Linked DNA regions of Homo sapiens: region 1 is linked to region 2. The links are contacts of gene promoters, found by promoter capture Hi-C in human tissues and cell types (Jung and others, 2019). All regions are on one chromosome and are shown on one strand. Each heading gives the region's core, a stretch centred on a gene start or on the middle of the fragment in contact. The rest is flanking DNA. Distances are from core to core; before and after follow the strand shown.

Evidence for each region. Contacts are between HindIII fragments. The study calls those that stand out against the background at their distance.
Region 1: the fragment with the promoter of MYO1F here is called in contact with the fragment with the promoter of PEX11G in region 2 in 1 of the 25 tissues and cell types used here (bladder).

Annotation. Positions count from the first base shown.
Region 1 is chr19:8,574,554-8,579,537 of GRCh38, forward strand. It overlaps MYO1F (myosin IF), which reads right to left and starts at 2,889. Exons shown (of 28, transcript NM_012335.4): 1 at 2,754-2,889. The coding sequence starts at 2,756. RefSeq lists enhancers at 1,334-1,393, 1,734-1,793, 1,964-2,143 and silencers at 2,264-2,313, 2,851-3,000, 4,221-4,415. The HindIII fragment of the contact is 34,715 bases long and covers 1-4,984 here.
Region 2 is chr19:7,485,664-7,490,694 of GRCh38, forward strand. It overlaps PEX11G (peroxisomal biogenesis factor 11 gamma), which reads right to left and starts at 3,372. Exons shown (of 5, transcript NM_080662.4): 1 at 3,288-3,372; 2 at 175-363. The coding sequence starts at 3,347. RefSeq lists silencers at 3,119-3,178, 3,229-3,558. The HindIII fragment of the contact is 14,364 bases long and covers 3,168-5,031 here.

The DNA.
Region 1 (4,984 bases), core at 1,639-4,138, 1.1 Mb after region 2:
TCTTTCTTTCTTTCTTTCTTTCTTTCTCTCTCTCTCTCTCTCTCTTTCTTTCTTTCTTTCTTTCTTTCTTTCTTTCTTTCTTTCTTTCTTTCCTTTCTTTCTCTTTCTTCTTTCTCTCTTTCTTTCTTTCTTCCTTTCTCTTTCTCTCTTTCTTTCTTTTTCTTTCTCTTTCTTTCTTTCTTTTTCTTTCTTTCTTTCTCTCTCTCTTTCTTTTTTTTTTGAGATGGAGCCTCTCTCTGTGGCCCAGGCTGGAGTGCAGTGGCGTGATCTCGTCTCATTGCGACCTCTGCCTCCTGGGTTCAAGTGATTCTCCTATCTCAGGTTCCCGGGTAGCTGGGGTTACAGGCGCGCACCACCACGACTGGCTAATTTTTGTATTTTTAGTAGAGACAGGGTTTTGCCATGTTGGCCAGGCTGGTCTTGAACTCTTGACCTCAGGTGATCCGCCCACCTCGGCCTCCAAAAGTGTTGAGATTACAGGCATGAGCCACTGCACCCTGCCAACGGCATTAGATTTTCTTTTTCTTTTTTTTTTTTTTTTGAGACGGAGTCTGGCTCTGTCGCCGAGGCTGTAGTGCAATGGTGTGATCTTGGCTCACTGCAACCTCCGCCTCCCGGGTTCAAGCGATTCTCCTGCCTCAGCCTCCCGAGTAGCTAGGATGACAGGCATGTGCCACCACACCCAGCTCATTTTTGTATTTTTAGGAGAGACGGGGTCTCACCACGTTGGCCAGGATCGTTTCTATCTCTTGACTTCGTGATCTGCCCGCCTCGGCCTCCCAAAGTGCTAGGATTACAGGTGTGAGCCACCGCACCCGGCCGGGCATTAGATTGTCATAAGCAGCATGCAACCTGGATCCCTCGTGTGTGCAGTTCACAACAGGGTTTGCGATCCTGTGATAATCTAATGGCGCCCCCGAGAATCTGAGAGGAGGTGGAGCTCGGGCTTGCTTGCCTGCCACTCATCTCCTGCTCTGTGACCCGATAGGGCTCATGGTTTCTAACAGACAGACCATGGCCCGATAGCAGTCCATGACCCCGGGGGTTGGGGACCCTGTTGTAAAGGACTTCAGAAATACTGTTTCATTGAATCCTTCAGCGATCTTCCTGGCATTCACCACTCCTCCAGGAAGATTTCAGCATCCCCAGACAGAGGTGGGTGTCATTTTTTTCTCTTCTATCATCCTCTGCGATACGGGTGGCCCCTCCCAGACCTTGTCTGCCAAGCCGACTGTTGACTAAGCATTTTCAGAGGGCTTCCTTGGGGAGGGGTTGCCTTTCTTTCAAGTAGCAAATCACTTCCTGTGTTCTTTTGATCAAAGCCCTGCCCATCCCAGGACCTGAGCCTCCCTGGCTTGCTTCTCATCTTGGAAGAATTCCCACCCCAACAGTCTCAGAGCTCCAGCTGATGGTTTGGGTGTGAATTCCGGGATGCCCAATTTCTCATCAGCTTTCCTTTTTTGAGACGGAGTGTGCTCTGTCACCCAGGCTGGAGTGCAGCGGCAGGATCTCAGCTCACTGCACCCTCCGCCTCCTGGGTTCAAGTTATTCTCTTGCCTCAGCCTCATATGTAGCTGGGATTACAGGCGTGTGCCACCACGCCCAGTTAATTTTTTGTATTTTTTAGTAGAGACGAGGTTTCACCACGTTGGCCAGGCTGGTCTCGAACACCTGACCTCAAGTGATCTACCTGTCTCAGCCTCCTAAAATGCTGGGATTACAGGCATGAGCCACTGTCCCTGGCCCTCACTGGCTTCCTGAAAGAAGGTGTTGTCTCTCAGACTAACACCACCTCTGCCTCTTGCCCTATGTCCCTGACTCCACCCTAGTAAGCTGTACCTGCCAAGAATCCTGCAGTGGCCGCTGTCACAGCCACATGCTCTCATCCTCACTGACTGAATGACGAGAAATGAAAGCTGAAGTGGTCTACACAGCAGAGAGCTGTGGGGTGGGGTCAGCCCTGGCCACCTCTTACTTTGCGTCTTATGGTGGTACGATACTGCTAGGAATAGCGCCATGATCACGACAGTCTCCCCGTTGCTATCATCGACAGACCTCAGACTTGACAGGCAGCAACACCTCTGGCTGCCATCCTCCTCTTGGGATAAGGGATGCCCACCAAAGGGTGGCATGGACGTATTCAGCCTCTCCTGCCTCTGCTGCAGCCATACCGCCCGTCACCGGCACAGGGAGGGCGTCAATCCACCCCATCGCTTGTTAGACATAGCTTCCCATCTCAGCCGAGGACTCTGTGGCAGAACCCACAGACCTTGAGAATGTTGCAACTGAAAGACCCCTGAAGAGCAACTTCCGCATCTAGACGGATTTCCAAATATGACATCTGTGGGAACCGGGGCCAAGAGAGGGGAAGTGACTAGCCCAAGGCTACACAGGGAGACGAGAGACTGGGCTGGACTGGGAAAGGGCTCCCTTAATTTGCAAGCAAAGGAGGCTATGTCCTTGTCCCTGCAGACTCTGTGATTCTCCCTGGGCCACCTTCTGTCTTCCAGGTCCTGCCCTATCCTTGGATCCAGGGATACCACCCTGGCATCCCCACCACCTACAGATGGGAGCTTGCTCCCTGGTAAGGGATGCTGGAGGCACCTGAGCTGCACTGAGAGACACCCCACCCCCACAGAAGTCCACCATGCCCCTCCCCTCACCCCAATTTCTGATGGTCATTTTTAGGACACCTCCACCTGGCTGGTGTCCCTCCTCTTTCTTCTTCCAGATCCCACCCTTGAAGGACTTACCATGGTGGGGGGCTGGTGTCTGGGCTCCTGGAGGCTCCTGAATGGGTCGTGATGGAGGTGCAGGTTCAGGGGGATCTTGGGGGTGGCTTGGGCATGGCCCTGCTTCTGCCCGTTCACCGGACTCCCGGCTTTAGTTCCTCTTACAACAGCCCCTTCTCACTTCCTTTGGCGGGAGGGGCCGAGGCCATGGGGGAGGGAAGCTGGGTGTGGAGGGGGGCGGGGAGCTGGCTGTTTGGGGCTCTGAGCCTGAAGGGAGGGGTCAGAACTTGATGGCAGCCACTACTGGACCTCAGAGGCCTCTTCCCCAACTCCTTGGGGACAGGGCTGCTGCAGGAACATTTGGGTCAGCTGGCTGCAGGACGAACCACCTCTTTTCAGGGCGATTCAGGAAGCATTTGGGCTTCCCGGGTCTCTTTTTAAAACCAAGGAAGGGGCCCAGGGGAGGTGGCTCACGCCTGTAATCCCAATACTTTGGGGGGCCAAGGTTGGAGGATCGCTTGAGTCCAGGAGTTTGAGACCAGCCTGGGCTATATAGCATGACCCCATCTCTACAAAAAATGAAAAGAAAAAAAATTAGCTGGGCATGGTGGCATGAGCCTGCAGTCCCAGCTACTCAGAGGGCTGAGGTGGGAGGATTGCTTGAACCTGGGAGGTGGAGGCCTCAGTGAGCCCTGATTGCGCCACTGCACTCCAGCCTGGGCGAAAGAGTGAGACCCTGTCTCTAAAAACAAACCAGAAAAAACAAAAAAACCAAAAAAACAACAACAACAGGGAAGGGTGCCTTCTTCAGCTGTGTCTGCTCTGGGCATCCCTGGGCAACCTCCTTCATTATTATTATTGTTATTATTTTGAGACGGAGTCTAGCTCTGTCACCCAGGCTAGAATGCAGTGGTGCAATCTCAGCTTACTTTAATCTCCGCCTCCTGGGTTCAAGCGATTCTCCTGCCTCAGCCTCCTGAGTAGCTGGGATTACAGGTGCCCACCGCCACACCTGGCTAATATTTGTATTTTTAGTAGAGACGGAATTTCGCCATGTTGGCCAGGCCGGCCTTGAACTCCTGACCTCAGGTGATCCTCCCAACTCGGCCTCCCAAAGTGCTGGGATTACAGGCATAAGCCACCACGCCTGGCCCAACCTCCCTCTTTAGATGACCCTCAGAAGTCACACGTGTTTGTGTGCAGAAGTGGAGGGTACTGGGAAGCAGGTGCATCTGAAAGGTCCCTGACTTTGGATGTCACATCTAGATTTAACAGCCTCCAGTTTGGCTACTTCCTGGATGACTTAGTTACTCCCTTTTCTCATTGTAAAATGGGAACGTGGGTCCCCCCAGCAGAGCCTGGCCCAGGTACGTGTCAGCCTATGAGCTGGTCTTTGGGACACCAGCCAACCACCTGAGGCTCCTCTTGACATGTGAGGAAATGGCAGTTCTAATAGGTTGTTACTTCCCCACACCACCCAGCAAGGAGGTGGCCGAGGCAGGACCCGACCCTGGGAGACCCTGGGGGACCCATGTTCAGATCTATCTTTGGTCCAGGGCGATAAACCCGCATCCCCCTTGAAGATGTTAATATGCAGCGCCCCTAGTGGCCACAGCTGGGAAGGAGCCCGTCTCTGCTGGAATCTCCTGAGCGAGTTTGCAGAATTGACGGGCTTGGGGCATGCAATTCTCAGCAATGTCTCCAGGCACTCAAGAGTGAATATGAATGGGTAAGAGGACCCCACTTTGTTGGGGGCCATCAGGGGAGGCTTCTAGGAAGAGGCAACGTTTGTGCTGACACCGGCGAGTAAGCTGGAGTTAAAAAAGGTAAAGGGGCAGGAGCGTGCACCTGGCCATGCTAAGCGCTCAAGCAAAGGCCCAGATATGGGAAAACCATAGGGCAATTGAGGAAGTTCGGGGAGGCTGGTGTGGCTGGAGCATGCGGAGTGACGGAGAGTGTGATGGCCAGGGTGGCAGGTGCTAGACCGTGTGGCTTTAAGAGCCTCTGTGAGGGCCAGGCATGGTGGCTGATGCCTGTAATCCCAGAACTTTGGGAGGCTGAGGTGGGAGGATCGCTTGAGCCCAGGAGTTCCAGACCAGCTTGGGCAACATAGCAAGACCTCGTCTCTACAAAAAATTAAAAAATCAGCTAGGTGTGCTGTTGCACCTATAATCTCAGTTACTTGGCAGGGTAGGCAGGAGAATCGTTTAAGCCCAGGAGTTCAAGGCTGCAGTGAGCTGAGATCGTGCCAC
Region 2 (5,031 bases), core at 2,122-4,621:
TTTTACCATGTTGGCCTGGCTGGTCTCGAACTCCTGACCTCATGATCCGCCAGCCTTGGCCTCACAAAGTGCTGGGATTACAAGCATGAGCCACTGTGAGGGGCCAAAAAATTTTTTAAAAAATGTCCACTCAGGTCCGCACCCTACTCCCTAGAGCCCCACAAACCCTGTTACCTGTGCCCCCAGGCCATATTGCTTAGTGTAGACAAACATGGCCAGGTCATCAAAGAGTCGCAAGATGGTCCTGCAGTGGCTGAGTTGGGTGGACACCACCAACAGACGTGTCCCCACTTCGGACCTGGCGGGACACTGTTCAACCAGAACTCCACCAACCAGCTGGCAGCAGTACCCCAGCACTCGGATCTGTGGGAAACCAGAAGCAGTCAGTGTGGCCCTCCTGTTCTGCAGAACTGAGCTGCATCCCCCCATACCTGGCCCCGGGCCCCGCTGGATTGAGAGTGTGGAAGATTCTCTTTTTTTTTTGAAAGAGTCTCACTCTGTCATCCAGACTGGAGTGCAGTGGCACGATCTCGGCTCACCGCAGCCTCCATCTCCCATGTTCAAGCAATTCTTGTGCCTCAGCCTCCCCAGTAGCTGGGATTACAGGCGCCCACCACCACACCCTGCTAATTTTTATATTTTTTGTAGAGACAGGGTTTCACCAGGTTGGCTAGGCTGGTCTCAAACTCATAACCTCAGTGATCCACCTGCCTTAGCCTCCCAAAGTGCTGGGATTACAGGCATGAGCCACCGTGCCTGACCCAAGAGTTTGGAAGATTCTAAATCTACAAAGTGACAGTAAAAGCTGAAAGTTTAGGTGGGGCACAGTGGCTCACACCTGTAACCCCAGCACTTTGAGAAACCGAGGTGAGAGGATGCCTTCACACCAGGAGTTTGAGACCAGCCTGGGCAACATAGCAAGACCCTGTGTCTACCAAAAAAATTTTTTTTTTTGAGACGGAGTCTTGCTCCGTCACCTAGGCTGGAGTGCGGTGGCGCGATCTCGGCTCACTGCAAGCTCCACCTCCCGGGTTCATGCGATTCTCCTGCCTCAGCCTCCCGAGTAGCTGGGACTACAGGCACCCGCCACCAAGCCCACCTAATTTTTTGTATTTTTAGTAGAGATGGGGTTTCACCATTTTAGCCAGGATGGTCTTGATCTCCTGACCTCATGATCCACCCGCCTCGGCCTCCCAAAGTGCTGGGATTACAGGCGTAAGCCACCGCGCCTGGCTACCAAAAATTTTTTTAAGTTAACAGGGCATGGTGGTTACTTGGGAGGCTGATGCTGGAGGATCACTTGAGCCCAGGAGTTCCAGACTGTAGTGAGCTGTAATCGTGCTACTACACTCCAGCCTGGGCAACAGGGCGAGACCCTGTCTAAAAAAAGAAAAAGAAAAAGAAAAAAAAAGCTGGAAGTTTAAAAACATACTTGGAGGTGGGACAAATGAAGAAACATGACATCATTGATGTAACTGAAGGGCACAGCCTTTGGGAACAGATGTGACAGGAACAAAGAAAACAAAGCTCCTTACTTCCCACCTCCTAGGTCCTTCTTTTCCCAGGTGGCAGGAAGCCACAGCTAAAGTGTATATTTACATCTACCTGCCTGGACCAAAGCCTTTGGATGTGCTGAATGGTGGGCACAGGTGATCAGGCCTCAACCCAGTGAACAACAGGATAATTTGGTAGAATTACTTTAGAGAGAAAGAACCTACTCAGTAGGTGATGTGGAGCCTTCTGAAATAGGTCATCTTCACTACTCAGATCTTTTTTCTTTTGGAGACAGAGTCTTGCTCTGCTCCCCAGGCTCGAGTGCAAAGGTGTGAGCTCACTGCAACCTCTGCATCCCAGGTTCAAGCAATTCTCCCGCCTCAGCCTTCCAAGTAGCTGGGACTACAGGCACGCACCACCACATCCGGCTAATTTTTGTATTTTAGTAGAGACGAGGTTTCATCACTTTTCCCAGGCTGGTCTCAAACTCCTGAGCTCAGACAATCCACCCAGCTCAGCCTCCCAAAGTGCTAGGATCACAGGCGCGAGCCACCACGCCTGGCCTCCCTTATATCTTTATTTTACCTGCTTTTCAGAAATTGCTTGTTCCTGTTGTTTTATTTATTTTTACTTGTAATTCCTTTCCAGCCCCATTATAATGGCAAAACACTGCAATCTGAATGTTCAACTCGGGGGAGATTTGTTAACCCACCCCCCCAATCATAAGATATTTGAATGGAATCTAAATGCCTAGCCACCAGTACACCGCCTGGTACAACCTGAATGTCTACCTATAAGAGACTGGTGGGGACAAGCTAAGAGTCCAGACTCAGGGGCATGGATGGCATAACCTAAATGTTCAACCATATGGGACTTGATTGGAACTAAAAACTGTCCAGCCATAGGGAGAGTCTTGCAATATCCTAAATCCCCACATGAGATTGTTTGGGACAACCCAGGGACCAACTACAGTGGCCCGGTCAGATCCTAAATGTCCAAACATGGGAATCTGTTTGGTATGTAAACGTCCAGCCAGGCTGGGTTGGCAGAGACGATCTAAATGACCAACTGGGGTTTTGTTGGAACCCATCGCTGCTTAGGCATGGCAGGGCCCAGGCCATGGCGTGTTCTTTGGTCTAGGTTGGCTGAAACAACCTAAATGCCCAACTATAGGGAATCTGGTTGGAAGTGAATGTCCAGCCACAGGGGAGCCCTGCAACATCCCAAATCCCAACACGAGATTGTTCAGGACAACTTCAGTGGCCTGGTCGGATCCAAAACGTCCAAACACGGGAATCTGGCCAGTGTGTCAATGTCCAGACAGGTTGGGTTGGCAGAAACTATCTAAATGTCCAACGCTGGCCAGACGCGGTGGCTCACGCCTGTAATCCCAGCACTTTGGGAGGCCGAGGCAGGTGGATCGCTTGAGGCCAGGAGATCGAGACCATCCTGGCTAACACGATGAAACTCCGTCTCTACTAAAAATACAAAAAAATAGCAGGGAGTGGTGGCGGGCGCCTGTAGTCCCAGCTACTCGGGAGTGCTGAGGCAGGAGAATCGCTTGAACCCGGGAAGCGGAGGCTGCAGTGAGCAGAGATCGCACCACTGCACTCCAGCCAAAATAAATAAATACATAAATGTCCAATGCTAGGGCACCGCATTTGAGCCTAGCTCGGACGGGGCCTCTGCGACGGAGTATCCTGGGCGACCCCGTCCCCTCTCTGGCCCGTTTCCCAGTCTCTGAGCTTGGGCCAAACTCTAGGACCTCCGGCCCCGGTCCGCCCCTGCCTCACCAGGCGGTCCCGGCCCCTGTACGACTCCAGCGCCGACGCCAGGCCGCTCAGCGACGCCATGGCAACTCCGTGACGTCACCGCGACGTCGGCGCGCCGCGCCAGGGGGCGGGGCCAGGCCGGGGTACCGGGAGCGCCCCAAAGGCTTGCGCGCAGGCGCGGCCGCAGGCCTTTGTCCCCCTGACCGGCTTTTTGTCCGCTGTAGGGGAGGGACAGAGTTTGCAGAGGTGGGGCCGACACGTGTGTGCTCTCCAGGCCTGCAGACCCTGGATCATCCTCGGAGTTTGCTGCATTCTGCCCCACGGCGGTTTGGCCAACTACCCACGCACAAAAAAATATATTTCTAAGTTTAACCAACTACCCACACGCTCCAAAAATATTCCAAGCAAAACCACCAACCTGTTCGCAGTGGTTCAAGGAGAGATTTTCCTTTTTAGTTTTTGTGCTTCACCTTTTCTGCACTGTCTGCCTGCCCGTAGTGAGCAGGAATGACTGCTGTAATATCACAACAAGGCATCTTTCGACGTTAAGGAAAGACGTTATCTTTGGACGTTAAGAATTGTTCTAGAATACATAAATAAAAAATAAAAATGCACAATTCAGTGACATTAGTACATGCACATGTTGGACAACCATCACCCCTTGCTAGTTTCGGGGTATTTTTATCACCCCCAAGAGAGACCCCCGTAGGAGACCAGCATATGCCCCTCTGAAATATGCGACCTTGGTGTAGGATTATTTTGAGCTGAGATCAATGAAGCTGATACCGGAAAAGCTCTCTGTTCTTCCCTGATTTGCCTCAAAGCAGGACCTAAAGGTACAAAGGTGCCCTCCTCCCCTCTCTACCAGGAAGGACAAAGGTTGATCACCAGGGACACCTTTAGACTCTTGTCTGGAGACGTCTTTTTTTTTTTTTTCTTTTTTTTTGAGACGGAGTCTTGCTCTGTCCCCAAAGCTAGAGTGCAGTAGCGCCATCTCTGCTCACTGCGTCCTCCGCTTCCCTGGTTCAAGCGATTCTCGTGCCTCAGCTTCCCAAGTAGCTGGGATCACAGCTGTGCACCACTGTGCCCGGCTAATTTTTGTATTTTTGGTAGAGTCGGGGTTTCACCACGTTGGCCAGGCTGTTCTCAAATTCCTGGCCTCAAGTGATCCGCCCGCCTCGGCCTCCCAAAGTGCTGGGATTACAAGCGTGAGCCACCGCACCCGGCCTCAATGTCCTTTTCCTTCGTCTTGTCACTTCTCCAAAAATTTGCTGCTATATGTTGAAGGTGCTATATAAGCAGGAGTTATATAAGCTATATAAGCCACCTCATTTCTCTTGGCATCTCCCATGTACACATAAGGTACACATGTTAATAAATTTGTTTTTCCCTTGTTAATTTTTTTTTTTTAGACGGAGCCTCGCTCTGTCGCCCAGGCTGGAGTGCAGTGGCACGATCTCGGCTCACTGCAAGCTCCGCCTCGCGGGTTCACGCCATTCTTCTGCCTCAGCCTCCCGAGTAGCTGGCACTACTACAGGCGCCCGCCACCACGCCTGGGTAATTTTTTTTTTTTTTTTTTTTTTGTATTTTTAGTAGAGACGGGGTTTCACCGTGTTAGCCAGGATGGTCTTGATCTCCTGACCTCGTGATCCGCCCGTCTCTGCCTCCCAAAGTGCTAGGATTACAGGCGTGAGCCACCGCGCCTGGCCTCTATTTTTTTTTTTTTTTTTTTTTTTTTTTTTTGAGACAGGGCCTCGCTCTGGGA